Linked DNA regions of Homo sapiens: all the other regions are linked to region 1. Evidence: promoter capture Hi-C in 16 types of primary human blood cells and fetal thymus (Javierre and others, 2016). All regions are on one chromosome and are shown on one strand. The core of a region is centred on a gene start or on the middle of the fragment in contact, and the rest is flanking DNA. Distances in the headings are between cores, read along the strand shown.

Region 1 (2,682 bases), core at 67-2,566:
TCTCTTCAGAACTACTGATGGGAGACACAAGACTGGTTTCCTCTTGAGGGTTCACAGTGAACTGGGATATGGCATCACAGCCTTCCTCCCCTACCTGCCGGTCTCCTGGATGCAGGGGTCTTGGTGCTTAGCCCCTACTTCCCCAAACCTGGGTGATCACCCTCCAGCTACCCATATCTGGGAAAATGGGAGAAAGGAGTCTGGGACCGAAGGGGGTGCTAGGGAACCTGAAGGCGGGGAAACCGCTGACATCAGAAGCATCCAGAAATGGAAAGAGGGGGAACTAGGGAGAAGGAGGAGAGTTTGAGCAGAAGAGAAAGAGGGGGCAAAGTGGTAGTATCTGAAAATAGCAGGAAAAGCTCAAACCCCCTGGAGAGGAGGCTTTGGAGGGAGGAGGGACTGGAGGAGGGAGGGAGGGAGGGAGCAGGGAATAGGAGGCTGAGAAGAAAAGCCAAATGTTCAATAAGGTGCTGACTCCCCGTGGGGAGACCTTGACTCTTCCTCCCTGGCCCAGAGCCTCAGTTTCCCTCTCATGGGAGGAAGGATGGTCCCAGTTTTAGTGCGTGATGCTGAGCTTCAGTGAGCCCTGGGAAGGGGGGTAAGGGAATCGGGTGAAACCCTGAACAGAGTGGGGCTGTAAGGAAGCACATAATGGCTTTAGGGTAAGTGGGGTAAAAATGGGGCACAGCAGTGAAAGGGTCTGTTTCCCATGGAAGCAGCTCAGACCCTTGCTTTCCCCAAGAGGTCCTGGTCCACCCCCACCCTTGGCTTCCCTCCGGAGCCCAGTACACCCTAGTTGCCATGGCAATGGCCAGCCAGAGGGAGGTGGAGGGACTTGGCCAAGAGCAGCCCCCAGTGTCCTCTCCTACAGCCCTGGACCCCTTCCCACCCACCTCCACCCAGGCCCAGCTGGTGGGCTCAGGATGAAAGAGATAGGGAGTCAGAGAGGGAAGGAGGCAGGAAAGATGTGAAGGACAGAGAGAGGGAGGTGAAGGACAGGGAGAGATCAGAGGAAGGTGGGAAGGGGGATCTGGGAGGTTCCCTGGCCGACGGGGTCCCTCGCCCTTTGGGGTGAAGGGGTAAGGTCAGGCGGCTCCTCCCTCCTGTCCCCCTCCAGGTTCTCCAGGGCAGAAACAGCAGGTGGCTGGGGAGGAGGGGCCGGCCTAGGGGAGAGGAGGCAGCTTGAGGGGGAAAGGGAGGCAACACAGGGGACGGGGCAGGCAGGGGTCGTCTTACCTCTCTCCGGCTGCGCCCAGCACTGCCATGGAGACCGCACTCCCGACGCGGCTCTCTCGGGCTCCCGCTGCCTGCCGGCTCCAGCTCGCCCGCCCTCCTCCCTCCTTCCCTCTCTCCCTCCCTCCCTTCCCCCGGGCCTCCCTCCTCCCCCTCAGTCCCGGCCTCCCAGGCTCAGCCCACGGCTCACTCGGTCTCTGCCCCTCTCACTCTCCAGGACCCTCTCTCCCGGGGTCGTCCTGCCAGTGAGCCCAGGCCAGAGGGAAGGCAGGACAGCTTTGTGGGGGGCGGGGGGGGGCGGGAAACGAGTGCAGGGTGGGGAACTGGACGGTGGTGACTCGGGGAGGAGGGGCAAGGAAGGCGCTGAGAGGGAGGGCGGTGAGGAGGATGGCTGGGAACCGGCTTCATTGGTGAAATGGTTCATGTCCTGCCCCCACCCCTTCCCGTTTTCAACACGAACACAAGCTCCAAGAGGCAGCTGGTGTTGTTGGGGACTGAGGAGCTAGCTGTTCGGGGAGGAGGAAGCGTGTGTCACTGTGTGTATCTGTGTGAGGGCTGGGCCTTGGGTTTGGGAGTGAGGGGGCTTGTGGTGCACACTGGGGCTGCTTGTGGAGTTGGGGGTGGTTGTGCACAAGCTAAAAGGATGTGGGCGCATGCATGCACACAGACACACACACTCTGCCTCCTCCTCCTGGAACACAAACACATATGTTGGGGATACAATTTGCACACACATGTTACAGTTTCTCATAGTCCTTTTTCTCTGCCACACACATACACCAGGAGAGCTCACACAACCCTGAGTCTCTCCCCCACGGTATATCACACACATGTAATTACAGAGTCTCAGCCTCACACACACACAGGCCCACACAGAGCCCTGTGGGTTGTGGAGGTGGGTAGCCAGCCTCCACAGAATTTTTCCCTCTCCAGGGAAACTTCATCTCCTTCCTGGGGCACGCCCAGCAACCTCTCCTCTGGGTCCGACCCCAAAGACCAGAAGATTCCTGGTCCCCAGAGAAGGGGTCTCTCTCTCTCTCTCTCTCTCACACACACACACACACACACACACACACACACACACACACGAAGAGCATCTTTATAGTAAGTTTATTGTATTTTTATTTCAGCTCAGGGGAGCAGGGGTGGAGAGTGGGCACAAATGCAAAGTAAGCAAATGGGGAGCCCCAGCAGCAATAGGGGGGTCTTCCTGGAAGAGGCAGGCTTTAAAGACAGGAGGAGAAGGAAATAGGGAAAAGGAGTTGGGACTGAGGGAAGTGGTGAGGAAGGGTAGGAAGAGAGGGGATCCTGAGAGAAGTGGATCAAGAAGATTTGTAACCCTGATTTCCCTGTGTCCTGAATGGTCTGGAGGAGGGTAAGGGAGGGTGTGGGGCAGGCGCAGAGCCTGGCACAATCACCTTTGAGGTCCCTTAGAGGGTTCCCTCTCAG
Region 2 (2,682 bases), core at 85-2,584, 320 kb before region 1:
GACAGGGGACAGTCCCTTTATTCCCAGTTCTACCAACAGGGCTTACTAGTGCTTTGCTGCCTATCCAGCTCGAGGAATAACATCCTTGTCCAAAATCTATCAGGCAACCAACCTAGTAGCAAAGATTCCACTCTTCAGGTAAATCGTTAAAGCTATAAATATTCCTAAGAGGAGTAACACACTTTCATGAATAAATTCCCTGCCCCCCGAACTTATGTATTACATATGTGTGTAAGGCACTGGAAACTCTAGAGATGGGGTTTCCTTCTGTCCCCCAGGCTGGAGTGCAGTGGTGCAATCATAGCCCACTGAAGCCTCAAACCCCTCGGCTCAAGCAATCCTCCCACTTCAGCCTCTGGGGTAGCTGGGACTACAGGTATGTGCCACCATGTCCAGCTAATTTTTTTATTTTTTAGAGATGAGCTATCACTATGTTGCCTAGGCTGGTCTCCAACTCCTGGCCTCCAGTGATCCTCTCAGCCTCCCAAGTAGCTGGGATCACAGGTTATCTCTAGGATAGCTTCTAACCCAACATTAAGCACTAAAATAAATATTGCTTCCCTTTGCAGTCTCTCCTAGGGCCAGCCAAGATGGAATGGGGGATGGTCAGAGGAAAAAGGGGCAGAGAGTACTCTGCCTCATCCAGTTCCAAATGTTGGGGTCCCTCAAGGCTCAGACCTAGGCCCTCTTCTCTTTCCTCTCTACACTCTTTTCCTAGAAGTCACCTCATCTGTTGCCATGGGTTTGGGTACCATAGTTATACACTGGTAACTCCAAAATCCACATCTCCAGCCCATAACTCTCCTCTGAATGCCAGATTCTCCACTTGGATGCCCACAAGTATCTCACATTTAACACGTGTAAGGTGCAAGTCCATGCCCTTTCCCAACTCCCTCAGTTTCTCCCCAGGCAGTATAAATGCTCCATCATCCATCTAGCTGCTCAAGTGGCTGACGTAGGAGACAACTTTGATCTTCCCTTTCCCTCAGCCTCCACATCCAGTCCATTAGCAGGTGCTGTTGATCCCAGGTCCAAACAGAGCTACAAGCTGCAGGTTTCTGTGCAGGTCTCTCCGTCTCCATTGCCACACATCAGTCATGTCTCCAACCCCTTTCATGAAGACTGTTGCAACAGTCCTGTTTACTGTCACCATTAGATACCTTCAATACAACCATCCCACAGTTGCCAAGGGGATCTTGTTAAAATGTAAATCTGGCCAGGCGCAGTGGCTCACGCCTGTAATCCTAGCTCTTTAGGAGGCCAAGGTGGGTGGATCACGTCAAGAGATCAAGACCATCCTGGCCAACATGGTGAAACCCCATCTCTACTAAAAATACAAAAATTAGCTGGGCGTGGTGGCACACGCCTGTAGTCCCAACTACTAGGGAAGCTGAGGCAGGAGAATCTCTTGAACCCGGGAGGCCGAGGTTGCAGTGAGCCAAGATCGCACCACTGCACTCCAGCCTAGTGACAGAGTGAGACTCCATCTCAAAAAAAAAAATAATAATAATAATAATAATAATGATGATGTAAATCTGATCAGGTCATGCCTCTGCTTTAAAATCCTTCAAAAAACACTTCCTGTCTCTCATATGACAAAAATCTAGACTAACCCTGCTGAAAAAGTCCACTGTACAACCTGATCACTGCCCATCTCTGCAACTTATCTCCAGTCTTGTTCACTGTACTCCAACCGCACTGGCCCTCTTTCCATGCTTGGAACATGCTGAGCTCTTTCTTGCCTCAGGGCCTTTGCATATGCTCTTCCCTCTTCCTGGAACCTTCCCACACTCTTCCCACACCCAGCTATTTCTCATCCTTTAGCACTAGGCTTAAATTTCCCCTCAGTCAGGTCCCCCAGGAGCACCCAATCTAAGGCAAGTTCTCCTTTCCTTGCCTCCCGCCATGCTCTGCCCCAGTCCCTTGCCTGCTTCTTTCAGAGCATTTCTCACAATTTATCATTTTACATGTCTATTTACTTTTTAAAACTTTATCTCCCCAACTGAAATGTAAGTTGAATGATGGCAAAGATTTTGTTTCATTCATTGTATTCCCAGAACCTAGCTGAATGACAGAGACTTAGTTGTATTTAATAGATACTGGTTGATTAAATGAGGGTGAATTGAAGAAAGATAGCAAGGGTAACATTACCAATATTTGCAGTGTGAGGGGGGAATCAAGAAACAGCAAATGACAGACTGTCTCTTTAAAAGAGTGCCACAGACAGCAAAACTTTTGTAGACAGCCCTCAATTATCTAGTTTATAAATTATCTGGGCACTTCTTTTCTCTCTTCTAATGCTTTTTTTTTTTTTTTTTTTTTTTTTTTGCCGTTTGCTTACTCAGCCACTCCACCAGGACTTGCAAGAGAAACAGAAGGAGGTGAAAACTCAAATTAGTCCTCACTGGTCCTTGTGGTCAGCCTGGAGAATAAATAATGAAGAGGCTGCAACTGTTGGCTCAAGAGAGGATTTTAAATATTTTATCCATTTTTATTTATCCCTCCATAATCAGGGCTGATAATAGTGAGAATTAACATATACAGAGGGAGTGCTTTTCAGTCTACAACGGTCTATTACATCATTTAATCCTAACGACTCTGGGATATAGAATTCTTTTTATCCCTATATAACAGGGTTGTTTTAACCCTGAGGTTTACACATATTAACCAAGATTTCATAGC
Region 3 (2,682 bases), core at 126-2,625, 300 kb before region 1:
CCTGTGCTCCCTCCCAGGCCTGGTCCCGATCCACCTTCTGTCTTGTCTTTCCCACCTGCTCCTCCTCTTGGATTCCTCTCCCTTCCCGGCTGTTTTCGGAAGAGGCTCGCTCATATCCTTGACCCAGCTGTAAGGAAACTATTGTCACCCTTAATGAAACTAAAGCTTATCCTGCTGGGTCCTCATTGGAGCAAGAACCCACAGGTGAAGGGGCAGCCAGGTGGCAAAGCCCCCACCCCAGCCTGTCTCCCCACCACTCCTTCTTTTCTGAGAAGCACAGGTGGGACAAGGTGGGCCTCTTGAATGAGGGTTTATTAAAGTCTTGGAGGAAACAAAAGGGAAACAGAACAGAGAGTTATACTCACCTTGATTATCTGAGGCACAAATGCAGCCTCAGCCATGAACATATTGAAGGAAGGGATAGTCCAGTATGTAACAGACGCACCCTGCTATTGGCAAGCAAAGCACAGATGGAGTGAATTTAAAGAGTCCTTTACTAAAGGACTTTGTTTCAGGACGAAAGTCCACACAGAGCCCACAGGGTGTGGGAGATCTGAGATCTGGAACTGGGATCTCTGGGCTCTGAACTTGTTCTGTTGGGCAATCTGCTGATGGAGACCTTGTCTTCGAGTGTCAGGATGCACACTGTGGTCAGCTCCCCCTAGGTTGCAAAGGGCATTCTATCTGGGACTTGTCTTCCCTGCCCATCTGCTCTCCTTTTCAACAGCTTCTTGGTTCTTTTGAAACCTATGCTGTCTTCCCAAAGCCCTACCTCCTATTGTGTTGGCCTCCTGTAAGCCATGCTTTCATCTGTCCAGTCCTGCTCTTGGTGGGATGAACGAGAGGCCTCTACAGATCTCAAGGTGGAGGAGGAGAGGGTCAGAGCCCCCAAAGGTACTCTGGATTTGGGTAAATGCACCTGAAATACAACCATACCCAGCAAAAATAACATCCTGCTAGCTGATCGTCTGCACTTATTGTACTAAAATAATACATCTACTTCTATGAGAACCAGCGTCCGAGACAGCCACCAACAATACCTGCTTCCCAGTATTCCTGTCCTTGTGATGTCTCCTTCCACATCGGGTTGTCTGTGTGACCAATGGAATAAGGCAGAAATGATGCTACGTCACTTCCAAGGCTGGCTTATAAAAGACACTGTCACCTCTGCCTTGTTCTTTCCACCTTGGGTCACTCTGGGGAAAGCCAGCTGCTATGCCGCGAGGACACTCAAGCGTCCTATGAGGAGGGCCATGTGGCAGGGAACTGAGGCCGCCTGCCCACATCCATGTGAGTGACCGTCTGGAAGCAGACCTCCAGCCCCAGTCCCGCCTCTGGAGGACTGCAGCCTGCACCTGGACCAAAGCCTTGTGAGAGACCCTGATCCTAAACTACCCATCTCAGCCGCTTCTGGATTCCTGACCCACAGAAACTGTGTGAAATAGTACATACTTGCTGTTTTAAACAAAATGTGGGGGTGACTTTTTACAAGCAGACAGATAACTGCAACATAGTCTCAACCTTGAATTTCATTGCAAATGACCCCATCCTGACCATAACCTCAATATTCGCTAAGTGGGCAGAAGAATGGGGTTGGGGGGTGGGGGCAGTAGATGACTTCGGGCAGTAAAAATGTGTCCAGTCACAAAAAGGCATGACTCCATCCTCAGTGCTCACAGCCCTCCCATCCTAGCTCTAAGCTAGACCCTTCCACGAGTCTAGAGAGTGAAGTTCAGAGGCAGGCAGCTGCCCCCTTTCCCTTCCTCTTTGAGGCCCACCCACCTGAGTCCTGTCTGAGGACTGCCTCTCCCCTAGGTAATTGTTAAAAGGAATGTCCAGCATCTTCAGATGGTACCCTGCTCGTTTCAAAGTTGTGTGACCTTACTCTGTGGCTTCAAAAGGACAAAGACATCAGAATACAACTCAATGCACCTCACGCCATTAGACAGCATGAGTGACAAGCCGCAGGGAGGATATATCAGACAGCACCAGATCTTAGCTGGTAGGAAGCTGATTGACAAGTTCTGTGGAGGACAGAGCAGCAGAGCCCTGAAGTCCACAGCAATAAGGGGAAGATGGTGTTCTAGACACACCAGCAGGGAAGAGCCAAACCTGGATGGTCAGTTTGACCTCCCAGGGTAAGGAGCCTCTGGGTCTTCTCTACCTCTCCCAGGACCACCACAGTGAAACTAGAGCCAGAGGGTTCTTTGCTGAAAAGAGGGTGAGTGAGGTGGAGAGATGCAGATGAGAGGAGGCTTTATGCAGAAGCCATCAGGTTGTGCCATATCTAAAGCCTGGAAAAAGGAGGATACCAGCTGATAGGATTTGGCTCTATGTCCCCAACCAAATCTCATGTGGAATTGTAATCCCCACGTGTTGGAGGAGGGGCCTGGTGAGAGGTGATTGGATCATGGGGGCAGTTTCTAATGGTTTAGTGCCATCCCCCTAGTGCTGTCTCCCGATGGAATTCTCATGAGATCTGGTTGTTTAAAAGTGTGTAGACTTCTCCCTTCTTCTCTTTCTCCTGCTGCCATGTGAAGAAGGTCCTTGCTTCCCCTTCGCCTTCTGCCATGATTATAAGCTTCCTGAGGCCTCCCAGTCATGCTTCCTGTTAAGCCCGCAGAACTGTGAGTCAATTAAACTTCTTCTCTTCATGAATTCCCCAGTCTCAGGTAGTTCTGT
Region 4 (2,682 bases), core at 81-2,580, 270 kb before region 1:
GTTGGTGGATCTTGCACCTTCTGTGTGCCTGCTGTCTAACTACTGATGATGTGGTCACTGCCTGATGGGGAACTGCATCAGCTCTGTGAATTCTTGCAATCTATTGCCTGGGAAAGTGTCTTGCACATTAAACAGGTAGCCCATAAATGGATGAACGGGGGTGGGGGCAGAAGGGTGGAGGTTGGAGGGATTCATCTAATAAGGGAAACAAGCAGAACAGCCTACAAAGGCTTAAGAACGCAGAGTCCTGCTCTGCAGCCCAAGCCCCTCCGTGGGATGAAGTGCCATCAGATATTTGGTGCCATGGAGAGTTGATGAAGAAAGCCTTCCAAAAACAATGAAATTGTTTTTTAATTTATTTTAACTTTTAGAGACGAGATCTCACTATGTTGCCCAGGCTGGTTTCGAACTCCTGGGCTCAAGAGATCTTCCCACCCTGGCCTCGAAAAGTGCTGGCATCACAGGCATGAGCCACCACACGTGGCCAAGAGCAAAAGTTTTAAAGCAGGACACTATGGCCTGATGGACAGGAGAGACTAGGGTCCCTCCTCCCTCCCAGGGGCCTGGCTTCATCTCAGAAAAACCGAGTCCCTCTTGCTCCACACCCGCATCCTTAGCTTCAGCCCTGGCAGTTGTGTTGAGCAGATGCTAAGGAGATGGGGACATTTTACCCCCTCCGCAGCCGCCCCAGAGGGTCTCAAACCCAGGGCTGATTTAGGGTTGCCCTGACATGGCCAACCCTATTCTATGTCCAAGTGTCATTCATGGCTAAAGCAGGCCAGGGCCCCAAGGCAACCAAGCTCCTCTCTCCTCTGCCCGCTCCCACACACCCTCCTCTGCCCCAGTGTTCCTATCATTACGTCCTGGGCATTGAAACCCGGGCCATTCTTGGACCAGGGCTGTGGGCTGAATGAGGGCAGGAAGAACAGGGTCAATGGGAAAGGACAGCCCAGAAAAGAGAATTCACCACCACCTGTGGTCTCCCACTGCTTTGGTAGGAACCTTGTAAACACAGCAGCAGCCCCCAGGAAAGTCTTGGAAGAAGGGAGAAGCTGATCAGATTTAGAGACTGAGACATCTGGGCCTCCAACCCAAGGCTCCCCGGGCCCTAAAAAGCCAGACTCCCGTCTCCTTAGCCCTTTCCCTCACCGACCAGCAGGTGGCACCACAAACAGGGATTTCAAAACCAAAACTAAATTAAAGTGGAAACTCAGATCTTTTGTTTATGCAAATAGTTCATTCCCTCCAACATTCCTCCGGGAATGGTCCCCCCTCCACTCCACAGAAAACCCTCCCCTCCCTGCTGTGCATGACGCGGGCTCCCTCTGCACACAGTGCACGAAGACGCTGTCGGGAGAGCCCAGGATTCAACACGGGCCTTGAGAAATGTGAGTAAGGGTGATGGGCAACCAGGTGGGAGGGAGAAGCCAGGGGAGAAGCCAGGGCATGGGAGGCAATTCAGGGAGACAGGAACACCCTTCTCTCTTCACACACCTCATCAGTTCCACTGTGCACACGCGTGGACACACACAACACACGCCCCATCCCTCCTCCTAGGGATCAGAGGAGACTTCATACATAGATGCTCATGCCATGGTCCTTTCTTCCCTCTGGGCTCTTGGCAGGGAGCAGCGAGAGGAGGGGACCCCTTGCCCAGGACGGGACACTCTGTGCCTGTGTCCCCCACTCCACAGATGGTTTCTCCCAGACGCTCTTGCTGAACCTGTGGGAGCCCTTTCAGAGACCCACGGGTGGAAACCCTCACCCTCCATTAACTGGTCCCAAGCCAGTCCTATTCCTGGAAGGGGAGGGGAGGGACGCGTCCGGGCAGGGGAGGAGGCTGGAAAGGGAGTGTGAGGGGAGTGTGGTGGCCTCTGGACTGGACACTGCCCTGGAGAGTGACCCGATGCAGCAGCTGCACAGGCCATCCTCCCCACCCACGCACCCCTGCTGAGAACATGTCTGTGAGGTTCAGGGTGGGCAGAGAGGAGAATGCCCAGTGGTATGGCCGTCTCATCCCCTGCCACAGCCACTGCCCACATGGCAAGAGTGCTGAACCCCTCCAGCTCCAGATACTCTCTTTTGTTTTGGCAGGTGGCTCTTGTACCTCCTGGTGCCGGCCCTGTTCTGCAGGGCAGGAGGCTCCATTCCCATCCCTCAGAAGTTATTTGGGGAGGTGACTTCCCCTCTGTTCCCCAAGCCTTACCCCAACAACTTTGAAACAACCACTGTGATCACAGTCCCCACGGGATACAGGGTGAAGCTCGTCTTCCAGCAGTTTGACCTGGAGCCTTCTGAAGGCTGCTTCTATGATTATGTCAAGGTAGGGGCAGGATGGGCGGGCAGAGGGGAGACAAAACTGGGCCCTCTGGGATCTGGGATCTGTATGGCATGCACACCCCCAGACACAGCCCAGCCCCACAAGAGCTGATGGCCAACGGCCTCTCTGAGAGCCCGGGGATGCCCTGGATGGGCGCTCACTGGTGTAGAGGCCCTCGGTGAGCACTGAGGGGAGAAGCACAGAGAAGGAAGGGGACAGGACCCACTCAGGAAATTCAACATCCACTGAGTCAGGAAAACCTTCCCCATCTGCTGTCTAGCTGAGAGTCTTTGGGAAACCACTGTGCCTCAGCTTCCCTGTCTCCAAGGAAATGATTGACATGGCTGCCTGCTTCAACAGGA
Region 5 (2,682 bases), core at 54-2,553, 270 kb after region 1:
GAAGCTAAAGCAACGATCACCTAAATTACAGTCCTCCAAGAAAGTTGCTTTCCTCAGGCAGAATGCCCCTCCCAAGGGCACAGACACACAAACACCGGCTGTGTTATCCCCATCCAAGACTCAGGCCACCCTGAAACCTAAGGACCATCATCAGCCCCTTGGAAGGGCCAAGGGGGTTGAGAAGCAGCAGTTGCCAGAGCAGCCTTTTGAGAAAGCTGCCTTCCAGAAACAGAATGATACCCCCAAGGGGCCTCAGCCTCCCACTGTGTCTCCCATCCGTTCCAGCCGCCCCCCACCAGCAAAGAGGAAGAAATCTCAGTCCAGGGGCAACAGCCAGCTGCTGCTATCTTAGATGGTTGAAAACTAGACGGGTGGCTCACTGCCATTGTCACCAGGTTGGAACTCTTGCCTCTGTGAGGATGCCTTCTCTACTGTGCATACCCATGAAATTTAATACACATTTTAAAACCTCTGGCCACTGAGTATTTTTGAGGGAACTGGGTGCTGCCTTTGCCGCTTTAAGGGTAAAGATGGGAGGTGGGACTGGGATCTTCTGAGGAGAGGGAATGGTTGGGTGCTACTGAGAAATAAGGTCAGTTTTAGGCTCCTGCATCCTTGGGTTTTCCCAGGAAGGGAAAGCCCTGGAGTCAGAGCTAGGGGTGATTGAACTCCGGGGAGAGGAGGGCAATAGAAGTGTAGGGGAAGGCGGGGCACACTAGCTCATGCCTGTAATCCCAGCACTTTCTGGGAGGCCAAGGCGGGTGGATCACCTGAGGTCAGGTGTTCGAGACCAGCCTGGCTAACATGGCGAAACCTCGTCTCTACTAAAAATACAAAAAATCAGCCGGGTGTGGTGGCGGGTGCCTGTAATCCCAGCTACTCGGGAGACTGAAGCAGGAGAATCGCTTGAACCTGGGAGGCTGAGGTTGCAGTGAGCCAAGATCGCGCCACTGCACTCCAGCCCGGGCGACAGTGAGACTCGGTCTCAAAAAAAAAAAAAGTCGTGTAGGGGAGATGGGCTTGCCACCAGAACCCATGGGGTACTGGAGGTCCTGGGCTTTACGCCACCCCGGCTGGAGTCCAGGCGGTGGCTCCCCTCATCACAGGGCTCGGCCTCAGACCCGGAAAGGTCCAGGGTCCGGCCTCCAATTGGAGCCTGTCATTGGCTTCCCCTCGGCCCGCCCCCTGACCTCTGCCCCGCTGCCGAGCCGCCTGATTGGTCGGCTCTGTCCCGCCGGCGCCGCATTGGCTCTTCTGGCTCGCCTTCCATCCCTGCTCCTGCACCGGTCTGCATCTCCCAGCAGAAGGCGCAGCCATGAATCCGTTATTCGGCCCCAACCTCTTCCTCCTGCAGCAGGAGCAGCAGGGCCTGGCCGGGCCACTGGGGGACTCACTGGGAGGCGACCACTTCGCCGGGGGAGGAGACTTGCCCCCGGCGCCTCTCTCGCCGGCCGGCCCTGCTGCCTACTCGCCGCCCGGGCCGGGCCCGGCCCCGCCTGCCGCCATGGCCCTCCGCAATGACCTGGGCTCCAACATCAACGTGCTCAAGACCCTGAACCTCCGGTTCCGCTGCTTCCTGGCCAAGGTGCATGAGCTGGAGCGCCGGAACCGGCTGTTGGAGAAGCAACTGCAGCAAGCGCTGGAGGAGGGTAAGCAGGGCCGGCGGGGCCTGGGTCGTCGCGACCAGGCAGTGCAGACCGGCTTCGTCAGCCCCATCCGGCCCCTGGGGCTGCAGCTGGGCGCCCGGCCGGCCGCTGTCTGCAGCCCTTCGGCGCGCGTGCTGGGCTCGCCCGCGCGCTCCCCGGCCGGCCCCCTCGCGCCCTCCGCGGCCAGCCTCTCGTCGTCCTCCACCTCCACCTCCACCACCTATTCCTCGTCGGCCCGCTTCATGCCCGGCACCATCTGGTCGTTCTCGCACGCCCGCCGGCTCGGGCCGGGACTGGAGCCCACTCTGGTGCAAGGGCCTGGCTTGTCGTGGGTGCACCCGGATGGGGTGGGCGTCCAGATCGACACCATCACGCCCGAGATCCGCGCTCTCTACAACGTGCTGGCCAAAGTGAAGCGGGAGCGGGACGAGTACAAGCGGAGGTAGGGATTGGGAAAGGGGGACAGGTCTCTCTGTGTCATACCACTCACAACGGGCCGCGAGTTGGTGTGGGTTCCGAAGAATCAGGGGTGAAAAGAATGAGAGTAAAGTTTGTGCTGTGTAATGAGGAGCTTGGAAGCAATTGGATGCAGGGAGACTAGAATCCGCAGAGAATGCAGAAGCCCTGCTCGTGACAGGAAGAAGGACGCTGGGAGCGGAACACGGGGGGATTCCTACTTTTCCGGCTTGTCTCTGCCATCCAGGCTTAACTGCGGGTTTTGTGCGGTGTGAAAGGGACTGGGGCTCTGCCCTACCGGTCTCAGCCCTGGGGCAGGTTAGGGATATAAACTTCAAAAGTAGGAGGCAAGGATATAGCGTAAATTTGGGAGACTAAATTGAGTGAAACTGGAAGGGGCTGGTGAGGGAGGGGCTGTACCTTGCAACGAGTGATTCTTTCACACCCCAAGGTTTCCCAAAGAATATTGATGGAAACCAGGTACCTGCTGTGGTTTCATAGGAAAAGCTCCGGGACCTCAAGCCATTGCTTGAGTAGGTCAACAAACTGGGAAAAGAAAGAGTGAAGGGAATTCACTAGG

What was found. Contacts are between HindIII fragments. The CHiCAGO score rates a contact against its expected background, and 5 or more counts as called.
Region 2: a contact is called between a fragment that was not itself captured here and the fragment with the promoter of GPR162 in region 1, in 3 of 17 cell types (activated CD4 T cells, neutrophils and naive CD8 T cells). The highest score is 5.6, in activated CD4 T cells.
Region 3: a contact is called between a fragment that was not itself captured here and the fragment with the promoter of GPR162 in region 1, in 13 of 17 cell types (activated CD4 T cells, total B cells, total CD4 T cells and 10 more). The highest score is 12.4, in activated CD4 T cells.
Region 4: a contact is called between the fragment with the promoter of C1R here and the fragment with the promoter of GPR162 in region 1, in 5 of 17 cell types (activated CD4 T cells, total B cells, naive CD4 T cells and 2 more). The highest score is 6.4, in activated CD4 T cells.
Region 5: the fragment with the promoter of IFFO1 here is called in contact with the fragment with the promoter of GPR162 in region 1 in 12 of 17 cell types (activated CD4 T cells, total CD4 T cells, non-activated CD4 T cells and 9 more); the score reaches 20.2 in activated CD4 T cells.

Annotation. Positions count from the first base shown.
Region 1 is chr12:6,820,455-6,823,136 of GRCh38, reverse strand. GPR162 (G protein-coupled receptor 162) reads right to left here and starts at 1,316. Exons shown (of 5, transcript NM_019858.2): 1 at 1,237-1,316. CD4 (CD4 molecule) reads right to left here. Exons shown (of 10, transcript NM_000616.5): 10 at 2,338-2,682. RefSeq lists an enhancer at 1,333-2,305. The HindIII fragment of the contact is 21,739 bases long and covers 1-2,682 here.
Region 2 is chr12:7,138,476-7,141,157 of GRCh38, reverse strand. The region is part of intron 8 of CLSTN3 (calsyntenin 3); the gene reads right to left. Among named protein-coding and RNA genes, the nearest start is that of CLSTN3, 9.4 kb to the right of the region's middle. The HindIII fragment of the contact is 3,167 bases long and covers 1-2,682 here.
Region 3 is chr12:7,115,712-7,118,393 of GRCh38, reverse strand. It overlaps C1RL-AS1 (C1RL antisense RNA 1), which reads right to left. Exons shown (of 12, transcript NR_026947.1): 8 at 1-2,682. It also overlaps a transcript of RBP5 not described here. Among named protein-coding and RNA genes, the nearest start is that of C1RL, 7.8 kb to the right of the region's middle. The HindIII fragment of the contact is 2,416 bases long and covers 168-2,583 here.
Region 4 is chr12:7,091,093-7,093,774 of GRCh38, reverse strand. It overlaps C1R (complement C1r), which reads left to right and starts at 1,330. Exons shown (of 11, transcript NM_001733.7): 1 at 1,330-1,388; 2 at 2,095-2,323. The coding sequence starts at 1,387. RefSeq lists an enhancer at 988-1,282. The HindIII fragment of the contact is 12,054 bases long and covers 1-2,682 here.
Region 5 is chr12:6,554,663-6,557,344 of GRCh38, reverse strand. IFFO1 (intermediate filament family orphan 1) reads left to right here and starts at 1,303. Exons shown (of 10, transcript NM_001193457.2): 1 at 1,303-2,088. The coding sequence starts at 1,316. NOP2 (NOP2 nucleolar protein) reads left to right here. Exons shown (of 16, transcript NM_001258308.2): 16 at 1-474. The coding sequence ends at 352. RefSeq lists silencers at 1,126-1,285, 1,336-1,575, 1,686-1,865 and an enhancer at 2,326-2,682. The HindIII fragment of the contact is 7,963 bases long and covers 1-2,682 here.